Linked DNA regions of Homo sapiens: region 1 is linked to region 2. Evidence: promoter capture Hi-C in 16 types of primary human blood cells and fetal thymus (Javierre and others, 2016). All regions are on one chromosome and are shown on one strand. The core of a region is centred on a gene start or on the middle of the fragment in contact, and the rest is flanking DNA. Distances in the headings are between cores, read along the strand shown.

Evidence for each region. Contacts are between HindIII fragments. The CHiCAGO score rates a contact against its expected background, and 5 or more counts as called.
Region 1: a contact is called between a fragment that was not itself captured here and the fragment with the promoter of SLC26A6 in region 2, in 4 of 17 cell types (M2 macrophages, M1 macrophages, M0 macrophages and 1 more). The highest score is 9.0, in M2 macrophages.

What each region holds. Positions count from the first base shown.
Region 1 is chr3:48,460,960-48,463,659 of GRCh38, reverse strand. The region is part of intron 8 of ATRIP (ATR interacting protein); the gene reads right to left. ATRIP-TREX1 (ATRIP-TREX1 readthrough) reads right to left here. Exons shown (of 15, transcript NR_153405.1): 9 at 2,215-2,299. Among named protein-coding and RNA genes, the nearest start is that of TREX1, 3.9 kb to the left of the region's middle. The HindIII fragment of the contact is 4,574 bases long and covers 1-2,700 here.
Region 2 is chr3:48,634,211-48,636,910 of GRCh38, reverse strand. SLC26A6 (solute carrier family 26 member 6) reads left to right here and starts at 1,450. Exons shown (of 21, transcript NM_022911.3): 1 at 1,450-1,540. The coding sequence starts at 1,518. It overlaps CELSR3 (cadherin EGF LAG seven-pass G-type receptor 3), which reads left to right. Exons shown (of 35, transcript NM_001407.3): 35 at 1-448. RefSeq lists silencers at 1,242-1,521, 1,912-2,011. The HindIII fragment of the contact is 3,939 bases long and covers 1-2,262 here.

The sequences.
Region 1 (2,700 bases), core at 186-2,685, 170 kb after region 2:
AATTGAGCAAGTCAGTATGAACAGGTGAGTTGGTTCAGCCAGACTTGGGTTTCAGTGCTGGCCTGACCCCTACTTACTTGCTATGAAACTTGTTTCATGTGAACAAGTGGGCACTTCCACTGCAAGACTGCTGCAGCTGAGAGGACAGGCCCTTATCTGGTGTAGCATCGCCCAGGAAGTGGGATGACCTCCTGGATCTGGGATGCCTGGCTTCCACATGCTCCCAAACAGGGATGCAGGTCCTAACTTAGGTGGGAGAGAAATGTTCTGTGCCCACAGAAGGACTGACCAGGCCTCCAGAGGTGACAAACATGGCCTTGGCTATGGCTGGATCTTATGAGACCTCTCACAGGGCAAGGAAAGCCATTTTCTCTACTTGCCAGAAAACACATCTGCTGCCAGTGGGAGAATGTGCCTACTGTGGGGTGTGCAGGAGGGAGGGGTTCTGGGCATACTGCCCCAGGTCTCAGGGGCAAAAGGAAAGCTATTACCCCAATAAACCAAGCCCCAAGGCAACTGCTGCTGTTTGCTCAACCCACATAGCCTGGGGGAGCACGATGGACTGGCCTGGTGGGTGGGGAGGAGGGCAATTCTGAAACACTCTATGGGGTCTGGCCAGGTGTGTACCCCTTCAGACATCTGCAGTTTCTAAGCACAGAAGGTCAAGATATCCCTCAGTGTGTCCTTAGGAAGCAAGGTCTCACTATGTGGGGTGAACTCACTTTAGGGCAAATCCTGCACAGCAGACAAAAAGTTCAATGCTTTTTAGTTGCCAGGGTGTGCAGCCCTTTGTGGGAAGCTGGAATTTTAACATGGTTATTACCTGGTTTCATTATTGGGCTGTAAGATGTCCAATATCTGCCACTTGCAGAAGGTACTGCAAGGAAAATCCACTTTTATGTACACCACAGTGGTTTCCAAGTTATTTTTTGATAGCGTTAAGAACTTTTTTTTTTTGAAACTGAGTCTCGCTCTGTCACCCAGGCTGGAGTGCAGTGGCGCAAACTCAGCTCACTGCAACCTCCGCCTCCAGGGTTCAAGCGATTCTCCTGCCTCAGCCTCCCGAGTAGCTGGGACTACAGGTGCCTGCCACCACGCCCAGCTACTTTTTTGTATTTTTAGTAGAGACGGGGTTTCACCATGTTAGCCAGGATGGTCTCGATCTCCTGACCTCGTGATCCACCCACCTCGGCTTCCTAAAGTGCTGGGATTACAGGCGTGAGCCACCATGCCCAGCCCCTAAGAACCTCTTTAAATGAAATTTTATGAAGAGCCCCAGTACATGAAATAGATAAATGCCCAGCTGTGGCTGTGTTTTGAATGTCCCTGTGGACAAGCTCAACAGGAGTGGAATAATGGTGTGTCTACCACCAGTAAAAACATGGTTTCTGGGATTCTTTGAGATAGGGTCTCACTCTGTCACCTAGGCTGGAGTGCAGTGGCATGGTCATAGCTCACTGCCACCATGCCTGGCTAATTAAAAAAAAAAAAATTGTAGAGCTGGGAGTCTTGCTTTGTTGCCCACGCTGGTCTCAAACTCCTGGGCTCAAGTGATCCTCCCACCTTGGCCTCCCAAAGTGCTGAGATTACAGGCAGGAGCCACTGTGCCCAGCCTGGGATTCATTCATTTAACAATTATTAAACAAATAACCAAGGCTGGGCCCGGTGGCTCACGCCTGTAATCCTTGCACTTTGGCAGGCCAAGGCAGGTGGATCACCTGAGGTCCGGCATTTGAGACAAGCCTGGCCAACATGGTGAAACCCTGTCTCTACTAAAAATATAAAAAATTAGCCAGGTGTGGTGGCAGGTGCCTGTAATCTCAGCGTCTCAGGAGGCTGAGGCAGGAGAACTGCTTGAACCTGGGAAGTGGAGGTTGCAGTGAGCCGAGATCGCACCACTGCACTCCAGCTTGGACAACAAGAGCAAAACTTCGTCTCAAAACAAAAACAAAAACAAACAAATAAACAACAACAAAAAAAAACAGCCACTATGAGCTGGGCCCCTGCTGGGCACTTGAGTCCTGAGTCTGCCTGATCCCACTGCCCACACTACACTGCAGTGCTGTGTCCAGCTGAGTACCACCTTTAGCATGGGCCAGACCAACCAAAAATATTCAGATGGAAACAGATCTAGGAAACAGCAGTGCTGAGCTCAGAGATGAGATGATTTAAGATATATTCAGCCAGTGGAATCATTCCAACATAGAAACTGACCCTTTGGTAGAGTGCTGAGGGAGACTGGATTACTGGATGAGGGGGTGGGCTGGTTGTGTTCACAGTTCTCCCCAATCTTGCGGCTCTGGAATCCCAAGGGAGGAATTTATGATCACAGTGTTCATTCGCTAGGTTCACTATAATATACTACCCACAAACCTTAAGAAGAACAGGCCACCCCAGATGCATGCTAAAGATGGGCACAATGACAGGCAGAGACTCCCAGCAAGGTCAGCCCGTGGGCTGCAGACCCTCTCCACATCCTCTGCTTCCTTAGGGAAACCACTAAACTTCAACGTGCTTGTGATGTGTGGTCTTCACCTTACCCACATCTCAGGTTCAGAGGCCCCTTGTCTTAACCCTTGTCCTGGGGCAGGGCCCTCCTCCACAGAGGTTAGCAGCCTCCTTTAATCATGTGTGCCTTTTGCTTACCTGTTGTTCAGAGGCAGAATTAAATCAAATAAACCACTTCCTTGGTTCTCCCAT
Region 2 (2,700 bases), core at 201-2,700:
TTTTCTAACCCCCAGGTCTCCCAGGCCGAAGGTCAGCCTTGAGTCCCGTTTAACAGCAGATCCAGAAGACCTTGAGAGTAGGCGTCCTCTAACCACGGGGGAGAGTGGCTGTGCAGGGCTGGGGGGTGGTCTGTGCAGACACCTCCTCACCCACCACCCCATGCATACTCTTGGGAAGCAGCTTCCTGGGAGATTAGAAATTCTACTTCCCTGACTGGAGCTAAATCCCACCAGCCAGGACCCAAACTCTCCTTACCGAGAAGGACCCCAGCTCTTGAAGGGCTGAGTGGCCTGCTGGGGGTGGGAGGGTGTCTTTACTATGTCCTAGGTTTCGTAGATGCCCCTCTCTGGGGTTCCCCTCCTCCAGCCCAGCGGCCCTCTTTCCTGTCTGTGTAAATTGTTCCGTGAAGCCGCGCTCTGTTTTGGGAATAAACTTCTATAGAAAACAGTTGTTGCCTTTTCCTGTTGGGGGCTGGGGAGGTAGGATGGAAGCTGTGAATGATTCAAGCCAGACTGACCTTTGGGAGGAATCTGAGCCCCTCCCAAGAATATCCAGCTATTTTTAGCCCATTTCATGGCAGATCTCTTTCACCTTGAAATCTGGCCCCTCACTTTGTAATTGGGGCCTGATGTTGGAGCACAGGTGCTGAAAATAAGGTGCTAAGGAAAACCTCCCCGCTGGTCAAGGCAACGGCAACAGGACTTCCTAATTCTTCAGGGTCTGCAGCCCTGACCCGGCATTTTTTGCCCTCACCTGCGGTGAAACCAACCTGAGGAACTGCTCTTGCAGTTCCTGCCTTGCCCACCCAACAGCACTGACGCCCACCCAACAGCACTGACCCCCACCATTCTCCTCGGCGGCCCGCGCAGTAACCTTCTGGGAGCTACGTCCGGGCTGTGCTTAGTGCAGCGGAGGGGATCCTCCAACCATTTCTGGCCTGGGTGGCCAGAGTTAAAGGGGAGGACTTGGGGACCGTTGGCTCCGGGTCTCAAAGAGATGCGTAGTCGCAGAAAGCCTGCGGGTGGCGCTCTCAGCTGAAGGCAAGAGAGGCCCCACAGACCTGGATCCCCTACGAGTTAAGGCTGGGGTCACCGGCCAGTGGAGTTTCCTTTTCCCACTCCGTGAGCACCTTCCGCCGAGCCAGGACCTGGGATCAGCTCCAACCTACTCAGGGCCTGGGGGCGCGACTGCGGCCAGCCCGGCGCGGGTGCTTAGTTCCAGTTCTGCAGTCCCATCCAGCTCCGGGCAGAGGGCCGGGCGAGCAGCGAGAGGCCTCATAGGCCAGGTCGCCGGGGAGGAAGCGGTTAAATCCTCCTTCTCCAGTCTCTCCCCGCCCGGCGCGCGCCACTTAGGCCCCGCCCCAGCGCGCTGATTGGCCCAAGCCTCCCCGTCCTGCCCCGGGATTAGCCCCCGGGAGAGCGCAGCTGGCCTCACCCGGTCCCGGCGCCGCCTTCCGGAGCGTAGCGGCCTCTAGCTCGAGCAGCAGGAGCAGCCCGCACCGGACAACTTGCGAGCCATGGGGCTGGCGGATGCGTCGGGGTGAGTTCAGCGCACATTCCCGGTGGCCCCGCGCGAGCGCCTCGCTGGAGCAGGCATTCTCCGCTTGCGACGCCTCGCTGGAGCAGGCATTCTCCGCTTGCGACGCCTCGGTTTACCTCTGCTGATTTTCTGCAGGCGGCTGCCCCTCTGCAGCAAGGGGTGGGGGCGGGAGCCGGCGCGACCCCAGTCCCTTGGGCTGTGCGGAAAGCCGCTGGTGTGACGCCCGAGGGCCATCCCGGGCCACAGGGAGGCAGCTGCGTGCGGAGGAGCCCGGCCAGGAGATGTGCCGGCGGGGGTGCGTGGGGCACGGGAGTCCCTGGCAGCGGCCCGTGGACTAGCTGCTTTCAGCTGAGTCCCGAGTCCACCCAGCTCCACTGATCCCGGAGTGAGCGCTCCGGCCTTTCTGGCCCCAGTTGCCTTCCTACAGGGAGGGGCCAATGATCAAGGCTCCGCCCTCCAAACGCGGGTCCCAAGTTGTCGGGGGAGGGAGCCCTTTAAGAAGACCTGAGTGACTCACGTAGGAAAGGAGAGGGGGCTCTACGATCTCCTTGAGATAGCGGTCCCAAGAGTCTCTGAGGATCTTCCTTGCACCCACTCCACACTCCTCCAACAGTACAGCCAGGTTAGAGGCGCTTCCCAGGTGAGTTCCTGTCCCTCAAATGGGATCCTCTCCCCAGGTCAGGGCTTTTCCTAGATCAGAACTTTCCTGACTGGTGAAAGCTTCCCCAACAGGCTAGAGTTTTCCCCCAGGTAAGATCCTTCTGTGAGATCTATTCCCAGGTGACAGCTTTTCCCCATTCCACGTGGGAGCCTCGCCCGAGGTCAGAGCTTTCTCTATGGGAGAGTACCCCCCAGGTGAGAACCCTCTCCCTCTAGGTCTTTTCTTCCCATGTGAGATCTTTCTCTGACTTCAAGTAGGTGCCTCTGGGCAGAGGGAAGATTCCCCCTGTATCAGAACTTGCCAGGCTGATAAAGATTCCCTGGTAGGTCAGAGATCCCTCTAGGTGAGATTCCCCTTGAAAGCTTCTATTCCCAGGTGAGCTCTTTCCCCCACTTCAAGTGGGTACTTCCCTTTCCATGTGGGAGCCTCTCCCTCTAGGTGAGAGATTGCCACTCCAAGAGCAAGCTCCTTCTCAGGTGAGAGCCAGTCCTTGGCTTCC